Linked DNA regions of Homo sapiens: region 2 is linked to region 1. Evidence: promoter capture Hi-C in 16 types of primary human blood cells and fetal thymus (Javierre and others, 2016). All regions are on one chromosome and are shown on one strand. The core of a region is centred on a gene start or on the middle of the fragment in contact, and the rest is flanking DNA. Distances in the headings are between cores, read along the strand shown.

Evidence for each region. The method cuts DNA at HindIII sites, captures the fragments that hold promoters and counts their contacts. A CHiCAGO score of 5 or more calls a contact.
Region 2: a fragment that was not itself captured here is called in contact with the fragment with the promoter of CST9 in region 1 in 2 of 17 cell types (monocytes and naive B cells); the score reaches 7.3 in monocytes.

The regions. Positions count from the first base shown.
Region 1 is chr20:23,601,685-23,609,439 of GRCh38, forward strand. It overlaps CST9 (cystatin 9), which reads right to left and starts at 4,233. Exons shown (of 2, transcript NM_001008693.3): 1 at 3,926-4,233; 2 at 726-2,050. The coding sequence starts at 4,180. The coding sequence ends at 1,826. RefSeq lists an enhancer at 682-1,183. The HindIII fragment of the contact is 2,472 bases long and covers 2,737-5,208 here.
Region 2 is chr20:22,340,686-22,348,440 of GRCh38, forward strand. It overlaps the pseudogene BBLNP1. Among named protein-coding and RNA genes, the nearest start is that of LINC01427, 62 kb to the left of the region's middle. The HindIII fragment of the contact is 1,101 bases long and covers 4,465-5,565 here.

The DNA.
Region 1 (7,755 bases), core at 2,983-5,482:
TGCACATTGGCTATTGCTCCTTTCAAGATACGACAGCAATTCTGAGTAGCTGAGAGAGACCATCTGCCCACAAAGGCCAGAATAGTTACTCTCTGGCTTCTTCAGAAAATTTTTTTGCCAAACCCTGGTTTAGGTGATTTGGGCAATGTCTTGGTAGCATCTAGTCTGCCCGTGCCTCTCACACTGCATCCCCTGGGGGTGTGCATTCCTGCAAATCCTGCATTTTCAGGGGATTTCTGCATCCCTGGGGATTTGTAAGAGCGCAGATGCATTTTCCAAAGGTCAGAGGCCCTGAAGTTGGACATTTCTAAGATTCTTTCAGAAGATGCTGCTGCTCCAGATGCCAGGACAGCTTTATAAGGGTGAGGCTAGAAGTCCTTCCTCTTCCCACCAACCTTCCACGAACCAGGAAAGGTGTGTGAGCCACCCCTTGAGAACAGAGGCCACATGTGCTGAGTGGGACCCAGAGGCCCTGTCTTGCTCAGTTGTGCACATTGGGTGTCCTGCAAGATCACAGACATTTTACCTCTGGCCACATGGGTCATCATCAGCCACGAGCATGGAGACAGCAGCTCAGACTTATCTTGGTTGTGCCACCTGGAAGCTGGCTTATGAGGTCTTAAGGGAGGGAGGACCCCACTGACACAGATGCAAATAGGCTGCCCTTCTGAGAGGAACTCCATCAACTGCTCAGCCCCCTCCCTCCAGAACATGGCACAGGAAGCTTCTGCAAATGCTGATGTTTAATGACCTATTCTACTTGAGGAACCTGGACAGTGAGGATTTTCTAAAATGCCAAGTCATAAAACCTCAGACACTTGCAAAATAAGAGAACAAATATGCACGGAGCTGCTCAGCCACTGATATGTCAACTCCTGGGAACAGCTGGTGTCCACGGGGGAGGGGGCAGCATGTGGCCAGGCATGTGAGTGGCTTCCACTCAGGAGAGCCCCTCTGAGCAGGTCTTGTTCAGGAGTTCAAAATATGTCTTCCAGGGCATGGTTTCAACAGTGAAGAAGCAGCTGAAGGTCCGAGGGAACAAACAGGAAGAGACAGTAGGGCGGGGTTTGGGGAGGTTCGGGAATCTTGTGGCATCTGCCCTCAACACAGGTTCCATCTCCACCTTGCCCATTCCTGGGGCCAGCAATTGTGCCACGTGGCTCTGGCCTTCAGGTCTAGCCTGAGCCTGAGGCCAATCCTGAACTACAACGTGATTTGAGGCTCCCTCCCTCCTTAGCCAGGGTCACTTGTGCCATGCCTCCTCCTCCAGCCCGTGCCCCTCAGGGGAACCCCAGGCTGTCCTGGTGTGATCCCTGCATCCAAGAGCAGCAGGAGAATGTTTTGTCCCAGTGGAAGCAGTTCCCAGACTTAGGCAATTAGTTACCTATTTGTTAATCTTACAATAAGGGGGTTGACTAAGAATGGGAAGTTTTCCCAGAGCCAGGCTTTGCTTGGAGCTCGTCCCCTAGAGCAGGTGCTGCAGCTCAGCAGGGCCTAGGAGCGAGGGCAGTGGGGCTTCTTCTCAGCCTCCACCACTTTTGGGTCTAGGGCAGGGTAGGGAAACCCTGAGAAAAGTACCCACAGACATTGTCACCATTGTCTCCAGGCTCTTTCTCTAGAAGGCAGGGAAGAAGTGGGGAGGAAGACCAGAGAGAAGGTTCTGAAGGCCATGTGGCCCAGGTGCAGGCAGCTGCAATGGTGTCAGAGGGCAGAATCAGGAAACTCAGATTGGCCAGGGGCCTGAAAGTGAACCCCTGGGCTTAATGCCTCACTGGGCTTCCCACTAAGGCACAAGCAGGGCAGCCTGGTACAGCCTGCTGTGGGCTCACTTCCCTTTGTCCCTCGGAATGGCTTTGTCAGCTGCTCCTGTGCCCACACCACACCCCATGCAGCATCCACAGCTGTGGACCTGAGGAAAGCTGATGCCCTGTCTTACGTTGTTCAGCTCCAGGCTTTCTTGAAAAGGGCAGTTGTCAATGTCATCTTCAAATTTCCTACATACGGTTTGGCGCAGTTGCAGATTCATGGAGAACACCATCTTACCTCGCCACTGTTGGACAAAAGAAGATTAAAGTGGATGCACCGTCTTCCTGCCCCTAAGTAGCTACTAGTGAAGATGCCATTTGAGTAGGAGAGGCCCCAACACTTTACTGCATTTGAGAGCTTGCCCATGGGCCTGGCATCAGCTCACTGGAGGTGAAACCCAGGGGATCTTCTCTAGACTGAGGAGTTAAGAGCAAAAAGCAGGTGGGCATGGTGGGTCTGGGGAGGATGCAGGCTGAGTCAGACCCCACTAACACATTATCCACCTCCACCCACCCCCATTTCCCACGGTGAGACTCCAGCTTCACTCTCAGTAGGCATCTGATCTTGCAGCTGCATTCCCAGAGGACAGAGCCACATGTCCGGGAGGGTGTTGGATCTCCAAGAGTTTTCAGGGTAACTTCAGCCCTGGGACAGAGGGAGCCTCATCTACAGTGTGTTGTCAAACCTTCCAAGTGACCTCCAGCAAGAAGAATGACACACAGCGCTCCCACTACACACAGGCACACACCCTGGGAAAATGGGTTCAAGAAATACCATCTGCCCTATTGCAAAGTGCATGCTGAAGTTCTCCTTGCCCTCCTTCCCACTCCATTCTATTTAATTCCACTCCATAGCCTCCCTCTCACCCATCTATTCTTCCCAGCCCCCAAACTGATGCTGGGATTGCCATATCCAGGAAGCCATGTGGAAAGCTTTTAGGACTTACTGTCATTTAGGACTTATAGACCATAGTAAGGAGCTTAGATTTTATTCTAACGGTATTAAGAATGGAGGCTTACACTGAGGTCTTGGAGAATCAAGCAAAGCACTGGGAAAGCAGAAGCATGAGGCCTGGCCAATCTCAATCTCTGAGACTTCCAAGGTTCCAGCATGAATATTAGCAGCCACCATTACTGGACCAGATGCCCCTCTGAGGGTTGCATCAGGCTTTTAATTCTCCTGAGAGGAGGCAGCAAATGAGCAAGGAGGAAAATTCCTCTGTACCAGCATTGGAATCCTGAGGATGGCAGTGAGGAATCCACCCCAGGAGGCAGAGAACCAGCCAGAGCCTTGCACAGAGTCTTTCCAGAGCTTAAGCTCTGTGCGGTACTAGAGTCCCTCTGCCTTTCTTTCAGGCTCTTGGTGCTGAGAAAGGAAGAGCAATGCTCCTTCTCTCTCTAAACCAGAAGTTCTCCACTAGGAGGGCATTTTAATTGTTCATGCCTGAAGCCCAGATGAACTGTGCATTCCTGACCACATTTAATGATTTCATCAAAAAGGCAAGCATTTTAGGATAAAGGTCCATTGAGGAAGAGTGTAAATTGGCCTTCAGTTCATTAAGTGCAGACAGAGCAAGGAGCCCAGAGAAGGTGGAGATCAGAGAACTAACCTTTCACGGTGGCCTCTCAGGGCTGATGGTGTTCTTTATTGCCCTCGAATTCTCACTGTTCTCTCTCTGTCTGCCTGTCTCTCTCTCTCTCTGTCTCTCTCTCTCTGTCTGTCTGTCTCTCTCTGTCTCTCTCTCTCTCTCCCTCTGTGTGTCCTTGCTTTTCCATTTTCATTTTATGACCTGGAAATGTTTATCAGTCTCTTTGGTTATTTTCTCTTCTTGTCAGCTTCATCTCCTTAGAAGTCCTTATTTTGAAGTCACTCTTCAGTTATACAATGTCTTAAAAATCATGAAGATTGAAAAATATATTTTGCATGTGAATAGACATTTACCTAATTTAAAAAAAATTTTAAGTTCAATGTTTTCCAAAACTAAAACTACCGTAATTGGTTGTGGACTACCTGACTATGGACTGCTGATGGTGAACCAAGTCTCCTAGACTAGACATCTTGGTCCCTCACTTAGGGGCAGATGGAGAAGGACAGGCCAGAAGAGGATGTGGTCACCAACCTTTCTGTCCATGCTATCCTCCCTCCATGAACTCAGGACGCGCAACAGCCTGTAGGCATGCTCCTCCTTGCTCTGCACGTTGAAAGTGTTCAAGGCAAACTCCACTGTGGCGAGGAACATAGGATCCTGGACTATTTTATTATTACCACCCATTTCCTCTTCAGAACACCAGGCATAAGTCACCAGGAGCTGGAAGCCCATGAGAAGCAGTGACAGTGCCCAGGGCATAGCCTTCCTCCTCTGCGGACTCGACATGATGCAGGCTCCAGCAGCCCTTGCCTTTGCCCTTCAGATCCCTGGCGTCCACTGGAGCCTTCCAGGGCTCAGGTCTGGCCTTTAAATTCACCTGCTGGGGCAGAAACTCCTCCCTCCAGGCCTCACCTCTGCAGTTACACCCTGTCTCTCCCACACATGGCCTCCCTTCTTCCAAAGGCGTTTAAATCATCTCCTGTTTAGGGGAGAGGAACAGCACCCAGGCAGGTGGGTTGGAAAAGACTAGCAATGGGAGAGATAGTGCCCTGAACATGAGGCCCAGCCCCAGCTGCCCCAGCACCTCCGCAGGCTAAAGGAGACCTCTACTGGGCGCCCCAGAGTCAGAGCCCGGCACAGGAACACAAGTGTGAGAGGTATGAGTGGAAGGTGAGCCCTGGACTCAGCAGTGGGGGTGGGCTGGGAGGGGGAGGTTAGGTGGAAAGGCAGAGACAAAAGGATGGAAAGGGATGACAGTGGATGCTAGTATCATGGGTGAGCAGGTACAGCGCCCCGAGAAAGCACTGGGCCTCTTGAGAGAGAGGCGGGGAGCCCGGGAGGATTGGCGGGATGTCCTGCAGGTGTCTGCTCCCCCGAGGGTCTCGGGAGGGGGGCACCAGCCTGGGGGTCGTGGGCAGAGGTTGAGGAAATCAAGAGCAGGAGCCCCCAACCCTGTTCTCTGCACCTCCCTAAATGCAGCTTCCCAGCCCAGGGACGCGCTGCCAAGTGCTGGTACTAGGGGCCTGGCTAGTTATGGCTGCCCCTATTCCTCAAAGGTGTTTCCAGGACGGGTGGCCGCTTGCAATTGGAGCAGTGGAGAACCAGAAAGACGAAGATGCCCTCAGGGATGGCTGAAGTGCACCCATTAGGTTGTCACGGGTTCCCTCCTGTGGCCACAGCCGGCACAGCACTCTGCGGCACAGTTTGTGGGTGGAGATTCTGAGTTCTCGACCAAGACCCACATAGCCTCCAACTCCAACCGCAAATGGGGCTCTCAAAAGACTGAATAATGCACTCTTCACAGACCAGACTTAAGCTTTGTCCCTGTGAAATATGCCTTTGATGTTTATCCGTAGCTCCTTGTAAACTTCAGAAGCAACCAGCATCCCCTGATGTCACGTTAAAAAGCAAGTTCCTAGTTTCCCCACCCAAAGATTCTGACCCAGTAGCTGTGAGCAGGGCCAGGGAAACTACATTTCTCACCAGCTTCCAGAGGATGGTTGTGTTCCCGGTCTCAGAACCATACTTTGAGTGGTGCAGGTTCAGAATACTTCCTGGGAAGTGCATACAGACCAAACCACATATGAGAAGTAACTCAGCTTGAGGGGCATGGAGGTCAGGGGATGAGAATGGCTTTTGTGGGGCACACAGGATGGGGGACAGGCTTAGACAGCATGCCTGGTGATAAAGAATAAGAGTTTGTTTCTAGACCCTGTTTGCAAAGAAAAAGCAACTCAATGTGACAATTCCAGGAAAGCAGCCAGATGTGCCAAAAACATCACCCAAGGAGTCTGTATCCTTTCTCTGATGGCGTTGAGTTCACTGGAACTGCAGCTGAAGCGTAACTAATGTGGTTTCTTAGCTGGAGAGTGATGGTGCACGTAGGGGTAGGAAGGGGGTGTCAGTGAGGGCGGAAATGCCTTTGTGGGTTTTGGGATGAGCAGGCCATAAGGTGCTGTGAGAACTAGAATCCTGATGCCTGGAATAGGTTGCGAGTGTCCTGAGAGAGGCCTGCAATGCCCATGGAGGTCACTCTCACCTTGTAAGTTCAGCGGCTGACAAACTTGGGGCATCCTGCCAATTGCCAGTGGCTCCCCCACCATTCTGAGGGCCGATACCCACATGTGCTCCAAGGGAGTGCCCACACTCACTCTTACATGAGCAGTGGTTTAGGGTCCTGGGCACCAGCTCTGTCCTCACTGTGCAGCCAAGGAGGGGACAGGGATCCCCACACCCAGATGTGAGACCACGGGTGTACAGACACCATGGACCCTTACAAGTGTGTCTATTTTCTTGTTGAATCCCCAGTGGCCTGGGATGGCCTCACTTCCCAGGTGGAGAGAGACGGGAATATCAAGACATAGCCAGGTAAAGAGAAATACATGTGGGCTCCAGGCTGAGGAGCCCCGAAGACGTGGGTCAACATGTTGCCGAGGCCAGAGTGAAACCGGACGGCCCGGAGGGGCTGGCTGGCCAGCCCACAGGCACAGCTCACAGCTCTCTGCAGGGCTATCCCCAGGTCTCAGGTCTGGGAGGCTTTCTCTCCTGAGTCCCCTTGCAAGAGTTCTGTCTCACTCAGCTTCTTCCTGGGCACTCGTTGGCCTGTCTGTCTCTGGGGCCACCGGGACTTGTCTGGTGCTCTCTTTGTGTTGCTGGCACTGGCACCGAACACCCATGTGGTCTCATAGGAAGGTCCCAGTAACTCCTCACTGAAATGGACCTGCTTTTCCAGAAACGAGGCCCTGTATTTCTGAACGCATTCCTTTGAATGATTAGAGAATGCTGGCAACGACCAGGACCAAGCCACTGGCCCTTTTCTGTGAAGCTGAACATGAGGCGGTGGACGAGGGGAAGCCCAGTGACTCTTCGGGACACAGGACGCTCTCCCCAGCTCCCGCAGACCCTCCAGCTGAGTGCTCTCCCCGGGGTCGGACTCATGTCCCTCACTGCCCGGCCTACTCAGCCACATGCTCTAAAGGTCCCGTGCGACCTTGCTCACTGCCTGTTTCAAGCTGGGCCAGGCTCAGCGGGGCCTGCCAGTTTCAGGATCGCCTGCTGGGCTTTGGGATCACTTCCTCGGGACCCTCCCCATTCCCCCTGCTTGGCATTTCCCTAGGAGACTCCCCAGACAAGCCAGCATTCCCAGGGGTTTCCGTGTGCTGGAAAACAAGGTGGTGTCCAGGAGATCAAAGGAAGACAGCAGGGGCAGGGAGAAGCCCGGACTCAGAGCAGAGTGAGTGATCCAGTGATTGCTGTCATAGCAATCATCAAAGGGGCAGCTCGGGGCAGGGGGGTGAGCGGGGCTGGGTGGGGGTGCTGCCAGGGAATTCCAGAGCCCCCTCCACTCCTCCCTCCCCTCCTCCAGGTTTTCCACCTGGGGGGTTCTTCTTAGCTCAGTCTTCAGCTGACTTTGAGTTTTTATAATTTAAGGAATTAATCTCATATAGACTTATGGCAAATTTAAACTGAGAAAGAGGAATAATGATTGAATTAAAAAATGACAAAAGGAGAAATAAAAATACAAACATTACCGGTAAATATAGAGGCCTAAATCAGGGGTCATTCGTACCACATGCAAATCGGAAGGCCCATGGGCTGTTTCTTCTCCTTCCTGTGGGTCCAGCAGGTCCCTCACCCTGGCTAAGTCGGGGGTGCTGCCCTGGGCCCAGGAGCTTTGCTCTGAAGAGGAAGTGCTGCCCCAGTCACCCTCAGCAGCCCTCCTGTTTGCTGGCCTTTGCCGAACACACCTGCCTTCGCTCCTCAGTGGGCGTTTCCTCAGCTTCTGCTGTGCTCCCGACGGAAGCCTCTCCCATCCAACGCAGCCCATTGTTTTCTTTCATAAGTACTTTAGTTTTTAAAAA
Region 2 (7,755 bases), core at 3,765-6,264, 1.3 Mb before region 1:
ACGATATGACATTCTGGAAAAGCCAAATCTATGGAGAAGTAAAAAGAGTAGTGTTTGTCAGAGGTTCAGCTGGGGTGGGGTTGTTGGGGATGAGTAGAGGGAGGGATGAATAGGTACAGGAGAGACAATTTTTTAATTTTTATTTTTTTAAGACGGGGTCTTATTCTGTCACCCAAGCTGAAGCATGATCATAGCTCACTGCAGCCTTGAACTATGGGACTCAAGGGATCTCCCATTGCAGCCTCCAGAATAGCTGAGACCACAGGCACACACCACCACACAAGCTTAGCACAGGAGATTTTTAGGGCAGTTAAAAGTATTCTGTATGGTACCCTATGGTGGATGCATGTCATTATGCATTTGTCAAAACCCATAGGATGTACCCAAGAGTGAACCCTAATGTGAACTCTGGACTTAACTATGGACTTTAATGAATAATAACATAACAATATTGGCTCATCAATTATAACAAATGTACCACATCATTGCAAGATGGTAATAATAAGGGGAGTGGGGGGGTGCAGGAGCATATGGGAACTTGATACCATCTACTCAATTTTCCAAAAACCTAAAACTGCTCTAAAAATAGTCTATTAATTAATTATTTAAGAACTCAAAGAAACAAAAGCCTTGGCAGTGTTTTTTACATTGATCAGTTATGTGCCCCACCATGGCTGGTCCAGGCCTGAGTCTCTCTTGCTCCACTCTTAGCATCTCCTGTGTGTATTTCGTCAAACCCATGTCAACTGTGTGGGCCACTCTCTGAACTCCTCCCTCTCCATGAGCTCCCAGGATTTTCTAGTTCCCTGGAGTCCCTTTTTAGGTCTTCTGGCAACAAAGCTGGAATTTTAGTTACTTGGTTCTGTGTGTACTTCAGCAACTGCATCTGCATCGAGTGCCGAGGGATAAAAGTAACAGACAAAAAAAAAAAATCACCAGCAGTTTCAGCACTTTAAGTTCCAGTCCTCTTCTATGAGTCACTTTTCAGAGTCCTCACAGCTGCCCTGTGCCTTATGTTCAGGTTTTATAGCGACATCCGCTGAGCAAGATGAGTGGCATGTGCTTATCCCATTATACGTGGGACCAGGACTTCTTATTATTTAGATATTCACATGACCAGTGCCAAATGGATATATCGGCTATAACATAAAGTGACCTGCACCTCTCAAAAATGCCAAGGTCAAATCAGACAAAAACTACTGAGGAGTTGTCCAAAATTAAAGCAGACCGAAGAGACGGAGCATAGCTCTAAAGTATATCACTGGAGAAACTGGCAACATTTAAATACAGTCTGTGGATTGAAAGTATTGTATCCAAGTTAAATGTGCCGATTTGGGTAACTGTTATGGTTATGGAAAGGGATATCCTGTTCTTTGGAAATAGACACCAAAATATATATTAGGCAGAGGGGATGCTATCTTTAGCTCACTTTCAAATGGTTCAAAATGCACATACACATACACTCTCTCTCACATACATATGCATGCACACGCGCACACACACACACACCTGCACATGCATGCAAGCTGAGGGGTGTAGAAGAAGGAACAATCCTAAAGGGACTGCTATTCCTAACCTGACCCTGTCCTAGGCCACCAGCACACAGCACCCAACCAGCATTCAACCTTCCGACTGGACATGGACACCCTCTAGTTGCCTCAATGGCTCAGGGCACATGCGGAGGGCTGGCTGGGCCCAGCTGACAAGAATTCATATATTTGGTGAACTTCCTTAGAGTGAAATAGACAGGCTCACAAGCTTGTTCCGTGAGATACACACACACACACACACACACACACACACACTCCCCACTCAATGAGTCGTTAGAATGGAGAAGCACATGTTTAAAATCCATAAAACAAGACATAGAACAACAGAGTAGCTTGATGGTGAACTCGGCATCTTTGTGGCTGTGTTCATGTGGCATTCATTCATTCATTCATTCATTCGATAAATGTTTACTGAGCTACCACTTGCAAGGAAGTGCTGACAATAGTCCTGTAAAAAAGACACTTTCTCTGCACTCCTTAAAATGACAATCTTTTGGTGGAGAATTATTAGCAGGGTTTATTGGGCCCCACCTGGGGAACTCAGGTAGAAATAAGAGGACAGTTTTGCAGAGGGCTGCAAGTCTCCCAGTGCTGCACAGAGGAAAAAGCTTGAGAACTTCAGTTGAATATTGTCAGGCTAACACCACGCTTGTCCCTGGAGACCTGGGACCACAAGACAGAAAGAAGGCTATTAGGTCTTAGGGACTCTACCCTGCTAAGGAGTTTGGACGTTTTGTTTTTGGTGTTTTGTTTTGTTTTGTTTTGTTTTGTTTTGTTTTGTTTTGACAGAGTCTTTCTCTGTTGCCCAGGCTAGAGTGCAGTGGCACGATCTCGGCTCACTGCAAAGTCTGCCTCCCAGGTTCAAGCAATTCTCCTGCCTCAGCCTCCTGAGCGGCTGGGATTACAGGCGTCCGCCACCGTGCCCGACTAATTTTTGTATTTTTTAGTAGAGACGGAGTTTCACCATCTTGGCCAGGCTGGTCTCGAATTCCTGACCTCCTGATCCACCCACCTCGGCTTCTCAAAGTGCTAGAATTACAGGCGTGAGCCACCGCTCTCGGCCGGAGTTTGGACTTTTGATAGGACACCCGATGCAATTGATTGATGTGTGTGTGTGTGTGTGTGTGTGTGTGTGTGTGTGTGTGTGTGAGATCCATTGAATGTGGACGCTCAAGGCCTGGACAGAGTAGGAAGTGCACAGAAGGCTGAGCAGGCAGGCACGTGGGTGGGACTCAGGCCCACCTCTGGCCCCAGAAGGGGATGCCAGGCGGTGGGGACCAGCTTAGACAGGCAAAGGGGACTGTGGGAAGGTGTGGGAAGCTGTCCCAGGCTGCAGACCCACCAGGGTACCCTGAAGGCTGGCCCTGGAGAAGGTATTTAAGCCAAGAGGTGAGTGCCCAAGCCGGAGCCTGGCCCAGGGGACACGGTTGGGCCTGTTTCGGGGCACCCGGAACCTAGGGACTGGCATGGCCGGGACCTCCCGGAGCTGCTGCTGGAACTCAAGGCGCCTCTTCCGGTTGGACTTCAGCGGCTACTGGAGGCAGGCGTGGAGGGGGTCGTTCTCCTGCCGGTGGTCCAGACAGAAGTTGACCTGGTCCAGGATGTGATGGCAGCATATTCTGCTTCCCGGAAGCCGTCGCCCTTGCCTTGGTCTCCCGCTGTCCCCGCACGCCCACGTTCCGCATGGGACCTGACTCAGGCACCAGGAGGGCCCCGCGACGAAGGAGCGCGGCGACCTTCGCTCTGAAAGCGGGAGCCGGGTGGGGGCATTGGGGGTGGTCAGGGAGGATCGCAGATGCGTTTTAGACAATAAGACAACAGACAGTGGCGATTCCCAACCCTGGCTGCACAATAGAATGAGGGCCTTTTGGGGTCTCAAACTGATCTAAGAGTAAAGTCTAATAATTTTTAAAAATCACCCTAGGCCAGTGGTTCTGAAAATATGGTCCAGAGACCCTCGAGGCCCTAAGGATCCTTTTCAGAGGTCCATAAATTCAAAACTATTTTCCTAATACTGTGCTCCTGAGAAATGACTTGCTTTATTCACTAGTGTACTCGGGATTTCCAGAGGCGAGGGCACATGGGATGTTCCAGCAGATCAAAAGCAGAGGCAGACACGAAATTCCAGGTGTCTTGTTAAGCCAGTCTTTAAATAGAAGGCAAGCAGGTGAAATTCTTTCCGCCCAGCTTCTGTTTTGGAAAAGTATAGTATGTTTCATAAAACTGTTCATTTATGTTACATAAGTATTATTTTATTTATTTATTTATTTATTTATTTATTTGAGATGGAGTCTCTCTCTGTCGCCCAGGCTGGAGTGCAGTGGTGCGATCTTGGCTCACTGCAACCTCTGCCTGGGTTCAAGTGATTCTCTTGTGTCAGCCTTCCGAGTAACTGGGATTACAGGCAAGCCCCACCACGCTCCGCTAATTTTTGTATTTTTGGTAGACACGGGGTTTCACCATGTTGGCCAGGCTGGTCTCGAACTCTTGACCTCAAGTAATCCGCTGGCCTCTGACTCCCAATGTGCTGGGATTACAGGCTTAAGTCAAGGCACTGGGCCGATTAATGCATAAGCATTTTTAAATCTCAGTTATATTTTCTAATACATTAACTATCAGTAGATAAGCCCACACAAACCAAATCTCTTTACATTGTCAATAATTTTAAAAGTATAAGGGGATCCTGAGACCCCAAAGTTTGAGAACCTCTGTCTAGACATTAATACTAAAAGATAAAGAGTAGCCTTAAGAGTTACCTAACAAGGGATTCAAGGAGGGTTTTTTAAATTATTCATTTACAGAAGCTGGGGCCAGGATGGACCCTGAATGTACAAGTAGGTCAGATCCACAAAGGCCACATTTGCAGCTGCCTGGTCTCCCCTTCGTCCTTCCTCATCAATTCCCATCCACCAGAAGCTTGGATTTGGCATAAAATATTGATCCCCTAATTCTGAATCTCATCCTACAGACCTTGTTTCTTGCACAAGCTGAGTTCACCATAAATACAGAGCAGGGGAGTTCCTTTGAAAGTGGCAGATTGTTAAGAACTGCTTTGGAAAGCTGATCATAACTCTTGCCTCTTGTTACCTAGATTAACTTTCCTGCATGGTTTGCGGGTTCTCTATGGCTATTTCTCTCTTTCTTACAGTTTAATAAAGGATTGGGTTGAGCCATATAAAATGATCATTTTTGCAGGAAAAAAATAACTGGATATCGGCAATTTTATATGATGTAACCTAATACATTGCATGGCATTGTCACATTGTATTTTATTTAACCCAGGCAAGAAATGTGCTTTGCACCCTTGAGTATATGCAAGAACAGCTACCAAAAACAGTTATTCTGAAAATGGCAAGATGTCTTAAAAAGGATAGAAGCCCTTGCTTCTTGGCCTTATTCAGGGACCTTGCTGCTGGTGTGTAGTTGAACATGAGAGCAAAGCAGGGTCTACTGATTCCAAAGTCTGTGCTGTCAGACCATGGTGGCTAGACATTGAAGTAACCAGCAATTTATTAACTAGCACATCTCTGTACTCCATTGTGATGCTAACCTCCATTTCTCATGTGAATCATTGCAGGATTCTTAGAGTATATTCTCAGGTCTAGGAAAACTTAGATTACACCCTTTATGACTCCTGTAAACAATGTATTATATTGCGAGTTGGTAATATGTACTATTTAACTCAAAGTTTTTGTCATCTGAAAAATGCAGGTAATAATAATATCTACCTAAATGTGTGCAATAATTTAAAGGAAGTTCTTGGTTTATACTAGGCGTGGCCTTGGGGCTCAGTAAATACTATTTTCTCCCTTTCACCACCAAAAATGCATATACACTCATGTGTATGTACAAATTCACGCAACACACACTCTCATGCAAGAACACCCTTGCACATACAAGGATACTCGCTCATACATACATGCTCACACAGTGCTAGTATGCATGAACACTAGTATATGCTGGGGGCAAACACGAATGATAGTGGTAACCTCTTATCCCACTGTGTCTCCATGAAAGCTTTAAAGGGACCACTGTGGAACAGAAGGAGCATAAATCCAGAACTCGGAAGCATCTTCTTATTCTTCTCCTTTGTTCTTTGGTGCATTATGTTTGTTGTAAAATCCCTAGGCCTCTCAACCAGGTTTTCTCATCTGCAAGATGAAGGCATGGAAGATGATAGCAGCTTCCTGCAATTTGAAAGTCATTTTTTGACAAATGTGATCAACATCTTTTGTGTCTGGAGGCACAAGTTCAGACCCCAACTACATCCCATGGGAGTTCACTGATTTGAAGCACTGCTTCCTCCTCTCTTACAGTAAGTATGGGCAGCCCGATAGGTCTTTGTGATAATTAAATGAAATATAAGAACACCCCTACCCACTCTGTGAGGATCTGTGATCTCAGCTATGTCCAGCAGGACAGATGACACCCGGTCCTTCATGTGACAAGATCCTATTTCTCCCACACTTCTCTCTCCCAGAGTCCCAGGCAGAGCCCCACTCCCATGCCTTGACAGTGAAGCAGAAAATTTTCCTGCCTCCTTTGAATGAACTTAACACTATGTTCACACATCATATAAGGAAAAAAAAAGGAAAGAAACCCCTCACACCCACTCTGGTACACCTTGGTGTTTGCCATTATTAGAACAGCAAACGAAATACTATTGATTCAGAGGGTTTGTGGTTTACCGACCTAGTGCAGTTAAGTTCCTCTTCCTACCCCCATGACTCATGAATACACATCAAATCCTAAATAGTTTATTTACCGTTTGAACAGTTTTTTGCTTCTTGTCCTATTTCCCTCTGGACAGACAACCCAAAACGCTTTCTTTACCCACAGAAACAAATTTAAAAACAAGAAATACAGTTCTAGGAATAAAGAAAGATGTAAGAACGTTAATTTTATGACAAAAGAAACCTCATTAGAGAGTCTTATAGGAAAAAATATCTGAGTTCCAATTTATATCCCGCCATAATAAAACCTGTTTTACTCCAAAATTGTCCTGGATTGGATGAGAAACAATAGAGTAACCTCACTGAGAAGCAGAGCACTCAGCTTGGGTGAGTGGGGGCCAAGGCAGGAGCGAGCAGGAGCTAGTGCAGACGTCTGCTTTCTGGATGCGGGAACCAAGGGGCTTGCCCGTTAACCCTTCCTAATTCACATACCCTTTAAAACCTTACTGCTTGAGGCATGGTCCTGGACCGAGGGTCACCTGGAAGCTTATTGGAAAAGCAAACTCACAGACCCCAGACCTGGTAAACCAGCAATCTGCATTTTAACAGAGGCCCAAGTGATCTGAATAGACACTCACGTCTGAGAGCAGTGCCTTGAAAAGCTTTGCCAGAATGCTGTGAAGCATAAGCCGTATGACTTGATCTGTGGTCCGTTAGAATTCACAGGATAACTTTTCCAAAGTCTTAAATTAGAGGATTTCAGAATTAAAAGGACCTTCCCTCAACCTCTTTAATGCATGAGTTCCCTGAGAGTGGCCCCACTGGAAGACTCTGGTGTCACATCAGAGGAGTTTGTCCTCTGGGAAGAGTTTTTCAACAGTGCTTCCGTGGGGCGAGAAGGAACATGCTTCCTCTTAATTTCCACTCGCCTGTACATTATACACATTACAGAGCCACTCAGAGAAAAGATTAAGCTTCTTTCTCTGCAAAGGATTTTTGGAACACTGAAACGACCTGCATGCCTGATCCTATATCCAATTTCTTCCCAAAGAGCTCTAGTAGGTTCAGAATCACACCCTTAAGGAAGAGTATCCACAGAGTGGCCCTGGACCTACCTCTCTGCTGGAGAGGCCACATGAAACTGTATCAATATGCAAAGATGCTGGTCCTTTCACACTTTTCTGATGAACTCGGGTGTTATTAAAATTATGGGTATTTGCTTATTTCCCAGGCAGTCCCATGGAGAGCTGAGGCTGGCTAGACACTGGGACTGACTGTTGTTATCTATGCCTGTTGTCCACGTGACAGCCAGGGCTAAAGACAAGACTTTCTGTCTCTATCAACAGCCAGAGTAAATCCTCATGAAACAATATTCGGTACTAGAGATACCAGCTGCAGCAGAAAATATACAGATCATAGGCACTGAACTCCAACAAGACACAATCTAGTCCAGAGATAGGCCGCAGGAGTGCAAATATCAGTTTATCACTTAAACTTGTTTGATGTTCTTGGCAGTAGTTCTAAGCACTGAG